3 separate regions of the Homo sapiens genome follow, and all the other regions are linked to region 1. Evidence: promoter capture Hi-C in human tissues and cell types (Jung and others, 2019). All regions are on one chromosome and are shown on one strand. Each heading gives the region's core, a stretch centred on a gene start or on the middle of the fragment in contact. The rest is flanking DNA. Distances are from core to core; before and after follow the strand shown. Region 1 holds the start of TICRR (TOPBP1 interacting checkpoint and replication regulator). Region 2 overlaps ARPIN-AP3S2 (ARPIN-AP3S2 readthrough). Region 3 has its middle 7.5 kb from the start of ZNF710.

Region 1 (3,634 bases), core at 18-2,517:
AGAGACAGGGTTTCACTGTGTTAGCCAGGATGGTCTCGATCTCCTGACCTGGTGATTCGCCCGCCTCGGCCTCCCAAAGTGCTGGGATTACAGGCGTGAGCCACCGTGCCCGGCCTATCTATATATAATTCTATGTATTCTATCTATATAGCGATATATAATTTCTATCTGTAATGCAAATCTACATGTGATTTCTATCTATATATACATGTAGATAGAAAATTTAGGGAATTCACTGCAGGTGCTGCTTGCAGTCCACTTTTAAAACCTAACATTACATAATAAAACACTATTTTAAGAAGCTGCACTAGGCCGGGCTTGGTGGCTCACGCCTGTAATCCCAGCACTTTGGGAGGCCAAGTCGGGTGGATCACAAGGTCAGGAGTTTGAGACCAGCCTGGCCAACATGGTGAAACTCCGTCTTTACTAAAAATACAAAAATTAGTCTGGGGTGGTGGCGTGCGCCTGTAGTCCTATTCAGGAGGCTGAGGCAGGAGGATCGCTTGAACCCGGGAGGTGGAGGTTGCAGTGAGCCAAGATCGTGTCAATGCACTCCAGCCTAGGAGACAGAGCGAGACTCCGTTTCAAAAAAAAAAAAAAAAAAAAAAAAAAAAAAAAAGGAGCTGCACGATGCTCCCCTTGGGCGTGTACCATACCTTATTTAACCATTCCCAAACTGTTTCCATTTTTTCTGATGTTAAATAAACTCTAAGATGTACAGACGTCTTTTATCTGGCTCTCCGATTACCTTCTGCAGATAAACTCCTAGAAGTTACTGGGGCAAAGGGAGTGAACCTTTAATTTTTAATAAAATTTTTTAAATTACAGAAAAAGCCGTAGTCGTCAGATTCTACTTCCTAGGCGGTCCACAGGGATTTCAACAAGTTCGATTCAAACCATCCCAAATTCCCTCCCGGCACTAAGTTTTCCTCGGTCTTGGGAAACGTGGCCCCGCAGTCCGCACTCACGACTGCGCACAAACGCTGGCCTCTTTCCAATGGCGAAACTTCTCGACACGCCCCCGAGGCACCACCTCTTTAAAATTTAAAACGAAGGCCCAGGCCAATGAATGCTAAGCTTCTCTCGGACCACAGAGACCCGCCCACCGTCACTCCCTCCACCAATCAGACTGAAGTTTTCTCCACTGCCCCTCCAATCACCGCCAAAAATGGAAGTTGCTCTCGTAACTTACGTAAGGCAAGCAGCCAATAGGAGCAAACCTTGGAAACTAGCTCCCCCAATAGCAGCAGTTCCTGGAGAGCGCGGGAGCCTTTCGACCAGGGTCCCAAAGGAAAGCAGTGAGTGGTGCTGTTTCCCTGAAGGAAGGGACTAAGGGACGGTGGCGCGGGCCCGGACCGGGGCCCCGGGGCGGCGGCACGGCCGATATGGCATGCTGTCACAAAGTAATGCTGCTGCTGGACACCGCGGGCGGCGCCGCCCGCCACAGCCGGGTCCGGCGGGCCGCCCTGCGCCTCCTCACCTATCTGAGTTGCCGATTCGGCCTGGCCAGGGTCCACTGGGCCTTCAAGTTCTTTGACTCGCAGGGGGCGCGGAGCCGGCCGTCCCGCGTGTCTGACTTCCGCGAGCTGGGGTCCCGCTCGTGGGAGGACTTTGAGGAGGAGCTGGAGGCCAGGCTCGAGGATCGCGCCCACCTGCCCGGCCCGGCGCCCAGGGCCACCCACACGCACGGCGCCCTGATGGAGACGCTGCTAGACTACCAGTGGGACCGGCCCGAGATCACGTCGCCCACGAAGCCGATCCTGCGGAGCAGCGGGAGGAGACTGCTGGACGTGGAGAGCGAGGCCAAGGAGGCCGAGGCCGCGCTCGGGGGCTTGGTGAACGCCGTCTTCCTCCTGGCCCCCTGTCCGCACTCGCAGAGGGAGCTGCTGCAGTTCGTGTCTGGGTGCGAGGCCCAGGCCCAGCGCCTGCCGCCCACCCCTAAGCAGGTGATGGAGAAGTTGTTGCCCAAGAGAGTCCGGGAAGTCATGGTCGCCCGAAAAATCACCTTCTACTGGGTGGATACCACCGAATGGTCTAAGGTAAGGAAGGTTACTGTCGTCTCAGATGGCGTGCACGGTGCTTTCCTTGCTAACCAGAACTTGGCAGCGTCCTTAGAACAGCCACAGACCCCGAATGAGACTAATATGACTATGCGTCCCTTCGGAAGGAAACAAATAAATAGGAACAGTTTTCACAACAAAATGGGTAGTTCCTCACTACCTACTGTTTAAGACCCCTCACAATTTGGGCCCTACCTGCCTTCCCAGACTTGATTTTCCTACACACTACATCTACTCTAGCATATTGAAGTCCAGTCCAGAAAATCAACAGGTCTGGACTGCTTGTTTTGTGTTATGTGTGTTGTTCAATCTGCCTGGAATGCCAGTTCTCACTCTTCCAGGCCAGTCTTAACTTCACTTACCCTTTAAGGCTTCTTCTCCCAGTGACAACTGCTCAGTCCAGCGTCTGAATTGCCATACACATTTTGTGTGGCACTTAACCATTTCTCCATATGTTTTGATTATGCACATCTCTCACCCTCCATCTAGTCTAAAAATACCTCAGAGGCAAGCAGCAGGTTTTAACACAATACCCAGGGGTGTGTGTGTATGTGTGTGTGTATATATATATATATATATATATATATATATATATATATACACACACACACATATATATACACATTTATTTATATACATATATATATTTATTTATTATTATTTTTTGAGACAGTGTATGTCGCCCAGGCTGGAATGCAGTGGCTCACTGCAACCTCCACCCCTCCGGGTTCAAGCGATTCTCATGCCTCAGCCTCCCAAGTAGCTGAGACTACAGGCCCACGCCACCATGCCTGGCTAATTTTTTTGTATTTTCAGTGGAGACCAGGTTCCATGCTGCCCAGGCTGGTCTCAAACTCTGGCCTCAGGCAATCCGCCTGCCTTGGCCTCCCGAAGTGCCAGGATTATAGGTGTGAGCCACCACGCCCAGCCACCCAGATGTGTATTAAACGTTGTAGGTGTTCAGTCAGTATTGGCTGACTAAATGAGTACATTCTTGCGTACATTCTTGCAAACTTAAAGTCTTAAATGGCTAATTTGGATTTTTGCTGAGGCGGTGAGGCCCCCTGCTCCTGTTAAGTGCTAGGATAAGTATATACTTTTGCCTTCATCCTTCTCATTGCACTTCATTTAGTCAACAAATGTTCATTGAGAAGCCAGTAACATCTGAGTGCCTACCACACTGTTTGAGCTGCTGGGGACATGGTAACCAAAGCAGGGAACAGATTAAACAGATAAGCAAGTGACAATTTCAAATCATGCTCTGGAGAAAATAAAATGGGGTGAGAGGATGGGAGTAGAAGGTGGTTATTGTATACAGAGTGGTAGTGAGGGAAGGCCTTTTTTTTTTTTTTTTTTTTTTTTTTTGAGACAGAGTCTCGCTTTGTCACCCAGGCTGGAGTGCAGTGGCGTGATCTCGGCTCACTGCAACCTTCACCTCCTGGGTTCAAGCAATTCTCCTGCCTCAGCCTCCCAAGTAGCTGGGATTATAAGCGGGCGCCACCAGGCCTGGCTAATTTTTTTGTATTTTTAGTAGAGACGGAGTTTCACCATGCTACCCACCCTGGTCTCAAACT
Region 2 (3,530 bases), core at 514-3,013, 300 kb after region 1:
TGAGCAGCAGTCTCCTAAAAAATCATCTCTCTCCAAGGGCCAGGGATCATAATGACAACAATCAGTTGAAGAAAAACCAGGACCAAGCAAACCAAAGACGCACCAGTAAACTGCACAGGGGACAGCATGTGGTAAGTTGAATAAAATAAACATGGCAATTCCTATTCCCTTGCTGGCTATTGCCCAAGTTTAATTTGGCATATGAGGACATAGGCCATGTCACAGTTATCCTAGCAAAACAAATCTGAGAACACCTACTTGGGGCCATTTTAATTCTGCCTCTGATAGTCTACCTTCCTATAGAATATCACCTGACCTTGAATTACATTACAGATCTCTTAGTCACTATATTACTCTTTAGGAAAGATATAAATTTTACTATCTAAGTCAAAGCCCCTGCGTCATGATTATTCCAAAGTTTCATTGTCACTGGCCTATGACTAGGAAACTAATTTTATAATCAGCATAAAACTATTTATCTCACCTTTGGCCAAGTAGCCAGTGACATCATTCTCCTATATCAAGAAATCAGTCTGTGAACAGATGAACCACGATATAGGCCTAGTAATAATCTTATGCACGTTAAAACTGTTAGTAGATCTTAGCAAAAACAAAACAAAACCCAAACTATTAAATCTATTAAATAAAACATGTTCTAGGACTATCTTAAGAGTAAAAAAAAACAAGAAACAATATGAAGATGTAGAGGTGGCTACAGATGCCCAAGGCTCTTGGTTTTCTAGTAACCCTAGTTTGGAAGAGAACTGCAAGAGAATATACCTTATCCATATGGAAGATCAAATCCAATTCACACACATTTTCGAAACACTTATCCAGAGTTTCCACAAAAACCTAGAAAACAAGGAGAAATAGATAAAGAAGAGAAATAGGAACACATTCACAGCTTTATCAATGTCACATCTGAAAGTAAAAGGGGCTGTCACAATACTATTTACTTTATGATAAATCTCAAAAATTAAAACACCTACCTTTTGTCTCCAGCATTAGCTGATCACCCTACTTATCTCGATTTAGAGGGAATAATCTAGGACAGGAAAACCTTGTTTTCAGCATAGCAACACAACCAGCAGACACATGTGGCTCTTTCCCCCTTTATAAGATGCTAATTTATGGTAGGGCATGGTGGCTCATACTTACAATCTCAGCACTTTGAGAGCCCAAGGCAGGAGGATCACTTGAGGCCAAGAGCTCACGACCAGCCTTGCTAACAAGACGAAAACCCATCTCTACTAAAAATACAAAAATTATCTGGGTGTGGCGACACGAGCCTGTTATAGTCCCAGCTACTTGGGAGGCTGAGGCACGAGAATAGCTTGAATGAGAATCATTTGAGGTGGAGGTTGCCATAAGCAGAGATCGCACCACTGCACTCCAGCCTGAGTGACAGAGTGAGAGTCTCTCAAAAAAAAAAAAAGAAAAAAGAAAAAAAATTACATAAAAGAATAACAAATTAAAAAAACCAACTACTTACAATACTATGTCCTCAATGAATACATGTACAAAAAATTTTTCATTATTACAGGGTTAACATAGCTGTGTTTTAATTTCAGCCAAAATTAACTTCAAAACATCTTCCCTTTTTAATTTTTTTGGTCAGTTATTTAGCCTACAAAATACCTTCCTATGAATAAATTTAATTGACGTGTTTACAACTTAAAATTTTTTTTTAAAAGCCCTGAGCTTACTTCTCTATAGAACCTTTTAACTTTTAATAAAACATAACAGAAAAGTGTACAAATGACAAGGGCACAGTTTAATGAATTTTCAGAATGAACACACCATGTAACTACAACCTAGGTATCTATCTATAACTGTTTAATTTCTCTCAGACAATGACCTCATTTAAACAATCTCATTGTCAGCAGTGTCATGAATTGTTCGGCACTGCATGAAAATGGGTCTTACTTGAGGCCAGCAAGTGACAGAGACCAGGCACACCGTTCCACTGTAGCACAAGATGGGTGCTCATAGGCAAACCACCCTGCAGCGGCTGCTGGGGAGACAGACCCACTTGCCATGAGGAACCAACGCACACTATTGGAGCTGATCCTGCTCTGTCTCTTCTCTATGTAAGTAAAGCTTTATCCAGTGTTTGCACTTTTTCCTTGCCGACTCTGATACCAAGATGCAATGGGCAAGAGCATTTAGATTCCTTTCTTGAGACTGGTAACCAGTGCACTGTATTTTGCCAGATACCAACCATTTTGGAAAACTATGACATTATGTATGCATGCTCTATGATCTAGGAATTCTACTCCCAGATAACATATCTAACAGATATATACATGTATGCCAAAAACCACATACAATAATTTCATATTAGTGCCATTCATAAATCTTTACATTTTTAACAGTGCCAGAATATTTCACTATAAGGACACATAGTTAAATGGGTCTATTTCTCAATCACTATGCTGGGTACTTGGTAAGCCCTTATAATCCTGCAGTTCAAGTCCTTCAGTTCTGGGAAATTTTATCGAATTATTTTGTTGAGAATTCCCTCCTTTCCACATTCCTAATCAATCTTTTTGGAGCTGCTTATATTCAAGTATTGGACCTCTGTCTGTCTTCTTTTTTTTTTTTTTTTGAGACAGACTCTCGCTCTGTTGTCCACGCTGAAGTGCAGTGCCACGATCTTGGCTCACTGCAGCCTCTGCCTCCTGGGTTCAAGCAATTCTCCTGCCTCAGCCTCCTGAGTAGCTGGGATTACAGGCATGCACCACCACGCCTGGCTAATTTTTGTATTTTTAGTAGAGACGAGGTTTCACCATGTTGGCCAGGCTGATATCCAATTCCTGACCTTAAGTGATCCCCCTGTCTTGGCCTACCAAAGTGCTGGGGTTACAGACGTGAGCCACTGTGCCCGGCCTCTGTCTTATTTTCTCATCTTTTCTCTCCCATTTTCCATCTCTGCCCATTCTGAGACAATTGATTAACTTGATTTTCTAATACTTCAGTTGAAGTGGGTTTTTGTTTGTTTCCATTTCCTCTCATTTTTTATTTCTAAGAGACCATTTTGTTCATTTTGTGTGAGCAACAAGGCTGTGAGTGTTTTTGTTTAGCACCCATTTAGCAATAAGACATAAATGGGTCTTATTTTATTTCTAATTAATAAATGGGTCTTATTATTATTTAAAATAAATGTCTTATTTCTCTGTGGCTTTTTTTTTTTTTTTTTTTTTTGAGACAAGGTCTCACTCTGTCACCCAGGCTGGAGTGCTGTGGTGTGATCTCAGAACACTGCAGCCTCAGCCTCCCGGGTGCAGGTGATTCTCCTGCCTCAGCCTCCTGAGCAGCTGGGACTACAGGTATGTGCCACCATGCCTGGCTAAAATACTTCGTATTTTTAGTAGAGATAGGGTTTCACCATGTTGGCCAGGCTTTCTCTGTAGCTTAAGAATAGGGTTTTGGGTTTTTTTTTTTTTTAAACTGTTTTCCTTTCTTTATATGGTGTCCATTTTTAAGTTGCTTTTTATTGTTTGTTCATTTTATCTCCTTCTTCTATGTTA
Region 3 (3,684 bases), core at 641-3,140, 420 kb after region 1:
CGCCTTGGCCTCCCAGAGTGCTGGGATTACAGGCGTGAGACACCGTGCCCGGCCTAAACATCACCTCTTACAGGAAGGTCTCCTTCCTACAGAGAAGAGCTGAGAGGATACACCTCTTCTGCTACTGTATAAGTCAGTGTACATCTGTCATCCTTGGTTGCCTGGGAGACCCTTGATGGTGGCCAGTACATCGTCAGGTCACAACAAATGTTTGTTGATTGAATGAAGAATAAAAGCAAAGGAAGGGGACAAAAAGAGAATTCATGTCTGAAGATTCAACATGGCAAAACCCTCACCCTACAGCATTCCTCTCCGCCCTCTGCCCAGATGGTGCTGCTGCTGCATAGCCAGGCATTCTATACCTCCATTTCTCACTTAAGAAAATATCTCCAGCCTGGGCAACAAGTGAGATCCTGTCTCTACAAAAAATAAAAAATTAGCTGGGCGTGCACCTGCAGTCCCAACTACTGAGGAGTCTGATATGGCAGGATGGCTTGAGCCCAGGAGGTCGAGACTGCAATAAGCTGTGATTGCACCACTGCACTTCAGCCTGGGAGACGGAGTGAGACCATGTCCCCCCAAAAAAGGCTAAATTCCCCTCCTGTCTTGCCCATCATCACAGCTTCACAGTCTTTCAGACTGTTTTATTAATGCCTTAAAAGAAATCATGGGAGTGATTCCTGATGTTACATGTTCATTCATTCGTGCATTCTTTTTTTTTTTTTTTTTAAATGGAGTCTCACTCTATCCTCCAGGCTGGAGTGCAGTGGTACGATCTCAGTTCACTGCAACCTCCGCCTCCTGAGTTCAAGTGATTCTCCTGCCTCAGCCTCCTGAGTGGCTGGGATTACAGACGCACGCCACCACGCCTGGCTAATTTTTGTATTTTTAGTGGAGACGGGGTTTCACCACGTTGGTCAGGCTGGTCTCGAACTCCTGACCTTGTGATCTGCCTGCCTCGGCCTCCCAAAGTGCTGGGATCACAGGTGTGAGCCACTGCACCCAGCCTTTATTCATGTATCACGTGTTCTTTTTTTTTTTTTTTTTTTTCGAGACAGAGTCTCGCTATGTTGCCCAGGCTGGAGTGCAGTAGCGTGATCTCGGCTCACTGCAAGCTCCACCTCCCGGGTACACGCCATTCTCCTGCCTCAGCCTCCCGAGTAGCTGGGACTACAGGTGCCCACCACCATGCCTGGCTAATTTTTTGTATTTTTAGTAGAGACAAGGTTTCACCATGTTAGCCAGGATGGTCTCGATCTCCGGACCTTGTGATCCACCCGCCTCGGCCTCTCAAAGTGCTGGGATCACAGGTGTGAGCCACATTCATGTATTCTTATGGGCAATAAACATTTACTGAACTCCTGTCATGAATGTGATGCCAGCTACCAGGCTGGCCCTGGACACCAAGACCCATGTGCAGTGTGGGGAGGACAACTTGGAGGGACTTTTGGGCAGCCCTGAAGTCCACCCACAGGATAAGTGCTTCCAGGCCTCTCAGGGATCTGCCTGGCCCTGCCCCCTCCTTCCCCATCCTCCTCATTCCCACCCTACACCCTCTTTATCTCCCTTCACAAAAAGCTCTATTCTCTTTTTGCACAATACACTTTCACAATAGATAGTCTATTCAACCCAGAGCCCAAATCATCAGCAACCAAAACGCTGGTTCCTCTTTCCTCCTAGGTTTCAAACATTTCCAAGGGAGGAGAAATAATTGCACTCTGCAGCATCACTTCTGTTTGCATGGCTGTTTCTCCTGAAGATTGGAAGCTCCTTGAAGGCCTGGCCTAGGTCTTCTCACCATTGACTCTGAAGTGAACCATAAGCCTAGACCTTGTTTCCTAAATATATAATTTATTGTTCAAAATTAATATAATCATTCTTACCACAGAAACAAACAATCAAACAAACAAAACGAACAACAAAGGGGTTCAAGGAAACTTTTGGAGGTGATGGATATACTAACTGTGGTGACTGTCACAGGAGTATATACATACGTCCAAACTCACAGATTGTATATATTAATTATGTGTATTTTTTTATGCCAATTATACCTTAATAATCCAGGAGAGGAAAAATGAAAAATAAATACACCTTGCTCAAGAAAGAGAAAAAATATATAATAATTATAGAAATTTGGCAAATAGGGCCAGCCGTGATAGCTCATGCCTATAATCCCAGCACTTTGGGAGGCCAAGGCAGGAGGACTGCTGGAGCCCAGGAGTTCAAGGCTGCAGTGAGCCAGGATTGTGTCACTGCACTACAGCCTGGGTGACAGAGCAATACCCTGTCTCTAAAAACGAAAGAAAGAAAAAGAAAGGAAGGAAGGAGAGAGAAAAGAAAGAAAAAGAAAGAAGGAAGGAAGGAAGAAAAAGAAACAAAAAAGAAGTTGGGCAAGTACACTAAGGGATAAAGAAGAAAATTAAATCACCTATAATTTCAAGAAACAGAAATAACTTTTTTTTTTTTTTTTTTTTTAGATAGAGTCTCACTCTGTCACCCAGGCTGGAGTGTAATGGCGTGATCTCGGCTCACCACAACCTCTGCCTCCTGGGTTCAAGTGATTCTCCTGCCTCAGCCTCCTGAGTAGCTGGGATAACAGGCATGCACCACCACACCTGGCTAATTTTTCGTATTTTTAGTAGAGATGAGGTTTCACCATGTTGGCCAGGCTGGTTTCAAACTCCTGACCTCACGTGATCTGCCCACCTTGGCATCCCAAAGTGCTGGGATTACAGGTGTAAGCCACTGAGCCCAGCCAGAAATAACTTTTTAAAAACTTGTATATTTTCTTCCAGGCATTTTACATGCATTTTTCCGGATAAGTATACATGTATATACCAAATTTTAAATATATATAATTCTGATGCATATGCAATTTTATATTTCACTCAGCATATTACAAACACTTCCCAAGTCATTATTCTTCAAAAACATGATTTTTAATAGCTTATATAGTATTACATCAGATGTTCATGCCATAACTTCTTTAAACATTTCCATCATTTTTGGATATTTAGATTATTTCCTTCTTTCTTTCCTTCTTTTTTCCTATTTTTAACTTTTGCCAATATAAATAATACTTTCATAAACATGCTTAACACATCTTTGTTCACATTGCTGATTATTTCTCTCAAGAACAGATTTCTAGAATTCGAGTTACTGAATCAAAGGGTATAAATTTTTAAGCTTCTCTTGATCTTTCATATCCAATTATTTTCCAGGCTTTGTACCAATTTGCCCTCCTGTAGCCATAAGTATCATCACTGTGGCTTTTACATTTAATTTATTTGTAACTCTTCGGTGAAGCTGGCAGTTGTAATGACCCATGTTTCTTTTGGCATATTTCTATTCTTAAATTTATGTGTATAGGATTAATTAACTAATTGGTTCAAGCCATGATGGGAATAAAGCCATGTAACTGTGCACCCTCAATCACAAGGGGAGCTCAGAGGAGGTGGATTATTTCATGCACCCTTTCATTACTCCTGGACTAATAATTTGTAAGTCACATGTTCATCCCATCTATCCACACAAACTTATGCTTTCTTTGGGTTTTCCCCAAAAACCCTGAGTATTCCTAAATTGTTACTATACTTCTGAGGATTTTTTTTATTGTTTATTTTTTAATTTTAATTTTAATTTAATATTTTTTTTTAAGAAGATCTTGCTTTGTCACCCAGGCTG

What was found. Contacts are between HindIII fragments. The study calls those that stand out against the background at their distance.
Region 2: a contact is called between a fragment that was not itself captured here and the fragment with the promoter of TICRR in region 1, in 2 of the 25 tissues and cell types used here (hippocampus and liver).
Region 3: a fragment that was not itself captured here is called in contact with the fragment with the promoter of TICRR in region 1 in 1 of the 25 tissues and cell types used here (hippocampus).

Annotation. Positions count from the first base shown.
Region 1 is chr15:89,574,202-89,577,835 of GRCh38, forward strand. TICRR (TOPBP1 interacting checkpoint and replication regulator) reads left to right here and starts at 1,268. Exons shown (of 22, transcript NM_152259.4): 1 at 1,268-2,039. The coding sequence starts at 1,386. RefSeq lists a silencer at 1,256-1,545 and an enhancer at 1,667-2,195. The HindIII fragment of the contact is 16,704 bases long and covers 1-3,634 here.
Region 2 is chr15:89,870,695-89,874,224 of GRCh38, forward strand. It overlaps ARPIN-AP3S2 (ARPIN-AP3S2 readthrough), which reads right to left. Exons shown (of 10, transcript NM_001199058.2): 8 at 781-852. AP3S2 (adaptor related protein complex 3 subunit sigma 2) reads right to left here. Exons shown (of 6, transcript NM_005829.5): 4 at 781-852. Among named protein-coding and RNA genes, the nearest start is that of MIR5009, 12 kb to the right of the region's middle. The HindIII fragment of the contact is 7,631 bases long and covers 1-3,530 here.
Region 3 is chr15:89,991,979-89,995,662 of GRCh38, forward strand. No RefSeq gene overlaps it. Among named protein-coding and RNA genes, the nearest start is that of ZNF710, 7.5 kb to the right of the region's middle. The HindIII fragment of the contact is 5,795 bases long and covers 1-3,684 here.